Regions from separate parts of the Homo sapiens genome. Here all the other regions are linked to region 1. The links are contacts of gene promoters, found by promoter capture Hi-C in human tissues and cell types (Jung and others, 2019). All regions are on one chromosome and are shown on one strand. The core of a region is centred on a gene start or on the middle of the fragment in contact, and the rest is flanking DNA. Distances in the headings are between cores, read along the strand shown. Region 1 holds the start of ZNF841 (zinc finger protein 841). Region 2 holds the start of ZNF813 (zinc finger protein 813). Region 3 holds the start of ZNF665 (zinc finger protein 665).

Region 1 (2,667 bases), core at 70-2,569:
CATGCCTGTAATCCCAGCACTTTGGGAGGCCGAGGTGGGCGGATCACGAGGTCAGGAGATCGAGACCATCCTGGCTAACGCAGTGAAACCCCGTCTCTACTAAAAATACAAAAAATTAGCTGGGCGCAGTGGCAGGTGCCTCTAGTCCCAGCTACTCGGGAGGCTGAGGCAGGAGAATGGCGTGAACCCAGGAGGCAGAGCTTGCAGTGAGCCGAGATAGCGCCACTGCACTCCGGCCTGGGCGAAAGAACGAGACTCCGTCTCAAAAAAAATAATAATAATAATAACCTGACGCGTCCACCCTACTGCTGTGTCTGGTTTCCATTGGCTGGAATCGGACCCAATTCTGTGCTTGACCTGATTGGCTAGCACCTTAGAACTTCCCAAAAGAGGCAAAGGCAGAGGAGAACAAAGGAAGAGAGGAAGTAACTTGTGGAAGGCTGAGAGAGGCAAAAACACTTCCAAATAAGGAAGAGGAATAGGCTGTGACCTAATGCTTGCTTGGAACAATTCAGGCATGCCAGGGCAAATATCTAGGCTAAAATGTGGGAGCTAAGAACACAGAGTATATTGATTTATCTATTATGGCTAGCAGATATTTAAGAATATTAGCACAGGTCTTTGAGTAAATTTTGCTTCTAAGAGAGGTTACTATCTATTCTCAATTAGACTGGGAGGAAAGTCCCTTTGAAGAGGAACCTCTACTTATTTCATTTTCTACACTGTGTCTAGCACATTTCGCTTGGCATAATGTCTTCTGGGTTCCTGGATCCAGTCACTGCTCCACATCCAATCCCCACCGAGATCCCAGTTCCCTGACTACTGAGTAGCTTCAGCTTTTCTGGTAAGACTGGATGGAGTCCACCAGGCTCGGAAAAATCGGTTTTGACTTAAATCAGTTCAACTTGTTAAGAATAAATCATCTTAGTTTCCAGTATAAGTGGACCACAACTTTAAGATTCAACCTTAAATTCTGAAACATTAATTTAAAATGGGCAAGGAGCAACGCTGCTTCACAGGACAAGAAATAGTCACAAATACTCCCAAACCTGGAAAACAAAATCCTGCTGGGTGAGAGGCGGAGTGGAGAACAGGCCCCGCCTCGGCCCCGCCCACCCCTGGAGGCCCCGCTTCATCCCAGTTTTCGGTCCAGCCAAGCCCCACCTAGTCACGCCCCCTACCGCCCTGGGCCTCCCACCACCCTTTCGGGCCACTCCCAAGTCAGGCCAGTCTTTCCGCCCAGCCCTTTCCTAGTCGCGCCCCGCCTAGGCCCCGCCCCCAGGCCGCCCAGTTTTTCTTTCCGCGCCCAGTTTCCTGCACACCCGGAAGCAGATCGCGCTGGGGAAAGGCCACGTCGCTATGAGTGTGTTTCAGTCTACCTGGATTAAACGTTTGCTTCTCTTCGTCTACCTTGATTAAACGTGCACTTCGCAGTCCTCGGTTCTCCATACCCGTGACCTGGGGATCGCTACGGACCTTAAAATACCCGCAACAGCCCCTTCGTCCCAAGTAAGTAGGAGAATTGCTTCCCTTTCGGTTTAAAATCTCTCTGAGGCCGTTCCTTGCTCTCTGCCTTTCTTCCTTAGGACCATGTAGACAACCCCATTCAGGTAGTGTTCCCGCTTAAAACCCTCTGCTTGGGCCCCGCGCCAAGTCGAGTCCTCATTCGGGATGTGGACTAGCGCCCTTCGCGATCCCCGAGCTCCTCCGTCGTCTGCCCCTGGAGGGGAGCGCCCACTGTCCGGCTCCTGAAGGAGCCGCTTCTCCTCCCACGTCCTGGGATTCTGCAGACCCTCCCTGTCGTGAGACATCGTTCTCCGCGCCACCTCGTGTCGTCCTCACGCCGGGTCCTTCCGCTCCCCAGGCTTCCCCTTCACAGCCACTGCTTTTCTTGACTCCCCGTTGGGACAGGTTACCTGAGTCTGTCTTGTGACACCCAGTGTTCTTCCTTCCCAAATTTTACTCCACTGGAAAATGTGCTCTTCCGGGAGGTGGGCATCCTATTCCTCCCCTTTCCTCCCGAATGTGTGGGTGAGAGGGATCAGGAGAGGAAAAGACGGGGAACGACGGAGCAAAAGGAAAAACTGAGGAGAAAAGAATGAGGGAGACCCATAAATACACGGCAAAATGGATGATACTTTAGGGACTTGCAAAGAGAGCAAGAGTGAAAGAGAACGGATGGAAAAAGTAGCAGGGGGAGAAAAGCACACAGAGAAATTTAGAAAAAAAGGGGACCTTCAGAGAGATGAAGGGCAGCAAAATAGAGTGGGGCGGCAAAGGAGGAGGCACTGCAGACAGACAGACAGTGGGGAGAAGGTGAAAGAGTTGGAGCCGCGGCTGACAGAGCTACGTGGTGCTGGGACTGAAAGAGAGGGAGAGAGGGCAGTGGGTGACAAGCAGAGTAGAGGGAGAACCACAGCAGGGAGTAAGCCTAGGAAATTGGGGGTGCTAGAGAGTGGGAACAAAGGAGATGTAACAGGGAAGAGGGAATTTAACAAGGAGAGCAGAGAGGGAGCTTAGATGGGGGAAAAGAGGCAGAAATACGTGGAGATTGGGGACAATCGGAAAGATTGGGGAGAAAGAGCTACGAGAGGTGAAGTAAGTTGCAGAGCATTGGGCAGAACAGACATAAAAGAGGGAATAAAGAAAGGGGTGCAAAACAGAAAA
Region 2 (2,667 bases), core at 97-2,596, 1.4 Mb before region 1:
TCATCGCCATTCTCCATTCTCAGTTAACCAGGGACACAATGCACTGCGGAAAGCCGCAGGGACCTCTGCCCTAGAAAGCCTGGGTATTGTCCAAGTTTCCCCCCACTGAGACAGCCTGAGATATGGCCTCGTGGGAAAGGAAAGACCTTACATCCCCCAGCCGGACACCCGTAAAGAGTCTGTGCTGAGGAGGAGTAGTGAAAGAGGAAGGCCTCTTTGCAGTTGAGATAAGAGGAAGACTTCTGTCTCCTGCTGGTCCCTGGGAATGGAATGTCTAGGTGTAAAGCTGACCATTTCCATTCGTTCTATTCTGAGATAGGAGAAAACCGCCCTGTGGCTGGAGGCGAGATATGCTGGCAGCAATACTGCTCTGTGACTCTTTGCTACACTGAGATGTTTGGGTGAAGAGAAACATAAATCTAGCCTACGTGCACATCTGGGCACAGTACCTTTCCTTGAACTTATTCATGATATAGATTCCTTTGCTCACATGTTTTCTTGCTGACCTCTCCCCACCTGTTGCCCTGCTACACTCCCCTCACTAGGACAGTAAAAATAATGATCAATAAATACTGAGGGAACTCAGAGGCTGGCACTGGTGCCGGTCCTCCGTATGCTGAGCGCCGGTCCCCTGGGCCCACTGTCCTTTCTCTATACTTTGTCTTTGTGTCTTATTTCTTTTCTCAGTCTCTCTTCCCACCTGACGAGAAATACCCACAGGTGTGGAAGGGCTGGCCTCCTTCAACAGGACAAGCCCCGGGCACCTCCCCAACGTGGGCTCAGGGGAAGCCGTGACTGCGGAGGGGAGACCTAGGAAGCAGCAGGGCCCGGCAGGAGGAGGGAGGTGGGGGGGGGGGGGCGCGAGGGCGCCTTAAGACAAGGGTGGGGTCTGCAGGATCCCGGGACCAGACAGAGGACGCGGCCTTCCCGGGACTGGGGCCGCGGTTCTGCGCTCCACCGGCCGAAGTGGGCGAGAATCCACCCCTTGGGTGAGGACTTCAAAAAGCGCGGGGTGGGAGGAGTCAGAGAAAGGTTTAGAGCAGGAAAAATGCGCGATAGAAAGTGTATACATTGCCCTATAGCAGAAAGACCCGGGACGGGACCAGCCTCAGGGCGACCTTAAACACAAAAGGAAGCGACCCCCGGACTCTCACGGGGTCGTCTCAATTTGCTCTGGGTGAAGGAAGACGGCTGAGAATTTCCAGGTTTGTGGGGACCCCACGCCCCAGGTACAGAAGCGCCAGGGACCTGGGAAGTGCAGACCTAATACAACACAGAGCCAAACTCACGCGCTGCCGTGGGACCGTCACTCCACGCGATCCGCTTCCGGGTTTTCGCGAATCTGCGCGCAGGACAGAAGCCAGGCCTGGGCGGGACCTGGGAGGTGGGCGGGGCCTGACGAAGCAGGGGCGGGGCGAGAGGCGGAGAGACTTTGCCCTTTGGAAGGCGCAGAGGGCGGGGCCGGGGTGGGACCTGTGAGTCCGTCACCCTCGCTCCAGCGCCTGTTTTAGGGTTTTGGAGTCGAGACCGGCCAGTAAGGTTGAGGCACTATTCAAAAGCCCTGGAATTGTCTGGAACGGGGATGCAAACTAGAATGTGAAATGCAAAGCCCTGCCTGGGCGGAAGGTACGATTTCATGCTGACGGCCCACAAAACAAAATAGAAATCCTCCCCCTTTCTATTCTCCATTCACTCAGGAGGGCAAGTCCACCCCGTGCTCAACTTCAGAGATTTCCCTAAAGCCACCGCCATGGATGCGGGACGGAGTGCTCAGGCCAGGGAGGAGTGAGGTGACCACCTGCTGGATGGGGCGCCGGGGTGGGAGGGATGCGCGCGCGGGGGCAGGAGCCTGAGGTCCCAGCTACTCAGGAAGCAGCGGCGGGAGGATCGCTGAGCCTGGGGGTCCAGGCCAGCCTGAGCGACAAAGTAACACCCCCTCCCGCAGCGCTTCCTTCCTCGTCTCTTTTTTTCCTTTTTTTTTTTTAATGTTTTAAAATACAATTTTGATTGTGTGAGATAGGGATCCAACAGTATTCTTTTCCATCTGGATATTCAGTTAGTTGTCTCAGCACGTTTGTGGAAGAGATTTATTACTTTATTTATTTACTTATTTCTTTTGAGACAGAGTATTTCTCTGTCGCCCAGGCTAGAGGGCAGTAACGGGATCTCGGTTCACTGCAGCCTCTTCCCTCTTGGGTTCAAGCGATTCCCCTGCCTCAGCCTCCGGAGTACCTGCCATTACATTCGCGTGCCACCATGCCTGGCTAATTTTTGTATTTTTGTAGACGGGTTTCACCATGTTGGCCAGGCTGGTCTCAAACTCTTGACTTCAAGTGATCCGCCTGCCTCGGCCTCCCAAAGTGCTGGCATTACAGGCGTGAGCCACTGCACCTGGCCCAACAAATACTTTTTACTTCACTTTCCAATTGTTGAGAAAACATAATTGAAAACAAACAAAAAGTCTTCCCCCCAATGAGAAATCATCTCCACGACGACAATAGAGAAAGAAATTAAAACCATTTCATTAATAAATAAGCCTTAGGCCAGATTATGATGCGAAATAGACAAACAGCTAAGAGGTTGAAAAGAGAGAAAGAAACTTCACTGTTCTATACAACCCATTAAGTACATGTTTTCAAGATAAACACTAATCAGTCCTCAGGGAAG
Region 3 (2,667 bases), core at 107-2,606, 1.1 Mb before region 1:
ATCTTTTTCTCATGGGCTATTATGTTGTTATTTGAGTTAATACAGGTAAAGTATTCCGAATAATGCCTTGCACATAGTGTTCAGAAAAGTCAGTCATTGCTATTGCCATTATCATCACAGTTTTTACTTCTGGCCAGTGTTTCTGTAAAGCCACTGTGGACCTTGTCACCTCAGAAGACATCATTCGTGCTTTAGCTTATCTAGATACGGAGTATCACTTAGTGTGTTGAAAATAATATCTAACACTTCTATAGAGATCAGCTTGTGTTTGGGTTTTTATTTGTCTATTTATTGTATTGTCCACAAAACTGAAAACTCCACACAGATTTAGAGGCTATTATAACTACTTAGGGAAAAGTACAATAAAACAGAATTAGGGAGACATAACTTGCTCAAAAATGCCTTCACGCTGGGGCGGTGGCTCAGTGAGCCGAGATCATGCCATTGCATTCCAGCCTGGGCGACAAGAGCAAGACTCTTGTCTAAAAAAAAAAAAAAAAAAAAAAAAACAACAACAAACCTCACATATTCGTATTTAAGAATATAGGAAACACTGATTCAGTTTCTTCTACTGTTCTCTCACAACACAGAATGCTACAGTTAGCCCAGAGGTACTGGGTTTTCCCACACACACCAAGCAAGCAATCCTGCCACAGACACCAGGTGCGTGTTCTCTCATTCCGTTCCATTTTGCCGGGACATGGCATCAGATCCCACACGTTGAGGGCTCAGTCCCACAATAGTGCACACATTTCAATGCCAGTCTCAAGCAGAGGTTGTGACTTGTGCTTACAGATCAGATATAAATCCAGGAGTCCCTTGACCCCCTCCTCAGGTTCAACGAATTTGCTAGAGTGGCTCACAAAATACAGGGAAACACTTTACATAGATTTACGTATTATAAAGGATATTACAAAGTTGACAGAAGAACAGCCAGATGGAAGGGATCAGTGAGGTGAGGCATGGGAGAAGGGGCGTTGAGCCTTGGTGCCCTCCCTGGGTGCACCACGCTGCAGGAGCCTCCCAGTGTTCACCTATCCAGAAGCTCCGCTGAATCCTCTCCTTTTGGGTTGTTATGGCGCCTTCATTACATATGCATGATTGCTTATATTACTGGCCATTGGTTAAACTTTTAGATAGCCTAAGTTTTGTTTTTTTTTTTTTTTGGGAGAGACGAAGTCTCACTCTGTCACCCAGGCTGGAGTGCAATGGCGCGATATCGGCTCATTGCAACCTCCGCCTCCAGGGTTCAGGCCCCGCCCCGGCCCCGCCCACCCTATGCTCTCAGTCCCTCCCAACGCCTGGCCTTTCCCCACCGCAACCCGCCCCTTTGCCTACTGCGCGGGCAGTTTCTTGCAAACCCGGAAGCAGATCTCTTGGAGTGAAGGCTGTTAGTCGCCGCGTGAGTTTCCCTCTATCTAGATTAAACCTGCGTTTCGGAGTCCCCTGCTCCTCCGTACCCGATGTCCGGGGGTTCGTATAGCCCTTAAAGTCCCCGCACGGCTCCCTCCATTCCATGTAAATTCAGACTTTGCCGCGAGACTCTGGGGGTCGCATCGCTTTGGGTTAAAATCACACAGGCTGGTCCTGCCCGCGGTCTTTCGGCCTTCAGACCATGCAGACACCTCCTTTCCTGCGCCGTTTCCTGCTTAAAACCCTTTACTGACCTGCGCCCTGTGAAGTCCTCATCTGCGAAGTGGGTGCAGGATTTTACCGTCCCCTAACCTCGCCCTAGTCAGCTACTGGAGCGTTAGCGCCGCAGCCCCAGTCCCGGGGAGGCCGCGCCTCTGCCTGGTCCTGGGATCCTGCATACCCCACCCCTCTCCTAAGGCGCCGTCGCCCCCCACCTCCCTCCTCCTCGTGCCGGGCCCTGCTGCTCCCTAGGCCTCCCCTTCGCAGTCACCGTTTCCCCTGAGCCCGCGTTGGGGAGGTGCCCGGGCCTTGTCCTGTGATACCCGGTGTTCTTGCCTGCCCAGCTCCACCCGCTGGAAAATGTGCTCCTCCAGGATCCAGGTGTCTTACTCCAAACCCTCCCTGTGAATGTGTGGGCCAAGGGGATCAGGAGACAGAGAGGGGGGCTGAGAGAAAAGTAGAAAAACGGAGACAGAGGAAAGAATGAGGGAAACCAGTAAACATGGCAAAGTAGAGGATGGGTCAGGATTTACAAAGAGACAGTAAGGGTGAAAGAAGTCGCTGAGAAAGTAACAGGATGGAGAAACAACTGGAGAAATGTAGAGAAAAGCTCGCTGTCTAGAGAGATGAAGGACAGCAAGGTAGGGAGAGGGGCAGCTCCTCAGACGGAGAGTTAGGGAGAGGAGGGGGTATTTGGAGCCAGGATAGACAGAGCAGCGTGGTGCTGGGACAGCAAGAAGGGGCAGCTGGTGACAAGGAGAGCAGAGGGAGAACCACAGCAGGGGGAGACCTGGGATCTGGGGGTGCCAAAGAGTGGGGACAAGGAAGTGAAACAGGGAAGAGGGGATTTAACAGGGAGAGCAGAGATAAGGGAAGAAAGAGGCAGAAATAGATGGAGATTGGGGACAACCAAAAGACGGGTGAAAGAGGAATAAGAGGTGAAACAAGTTGCAAGAATGGAACAGAACAAGTGGAAGAGAAGGATAGAGGGAAGGAGAAACAGCAGGAGAAGAGAGGGGCTCAAAATGAGGAGCA

The links. The method cuts DNA at HindIII sites, captures the fragments that hold promoters and counts their contacts. A contact is called where the count stands out against the background at its distance.
Region 2: a contact is called between the fragment with the promoter of ZNF813 here and the fragment with the promoter of ZNF841 in region 1, in 1 of the 25 tissues and cell types used here (small bowel).
Region 3: the fragment with the promoter of ZNF665 here is called in contact with the fragment with the promoter of ZNF841 in region 1 in 1 of the 25 tissues and cell types used here (pancreas).

The regions. Positions count from the first base shown.
Region 1 is chr19:52,094,417-52,097,083 of GRCh38, reverse strand. ZNF841 (zinc finger protein 841) reads left to right here and starts at 1,319. Exons shown (of 7, transcript NM_001136499.2): 1 at 1,319-1,509. The HindIII fragment of the contact is 12,551 bases long and covers 1-2,667 here.
Region 2 is chr19:53,466,412-53,469,078 of GRCh38, reverse strand. ZNF813 (zinc finger protein 813) reads right to left here and starts at 1,346. Exons shown (of 4, transcript NM_001004301.4): 1 at 1,290-1,346. RefSeq lists enhancers at 2-564, 565-1,126, 1,063-1,302 and a silencer at 1,373-1,502. The HindIII fragment of the contact is 7,979 bases long and covers 1-2,667 here.
Region 3 is chr19:53,192,047-53,194,713 of GRCh38, reverse strand. ZNF665 (zinc finger protein 665) reads left to right here and starts at 1,356. Exons shown (of 4, transcript NM_024733.5): 1 at 1,356-1,402. RefSeq lists an enhancer at 1,391-1,540. The HindIII fragment of the contact is 23,654 bases long and covers 1-2,667 here.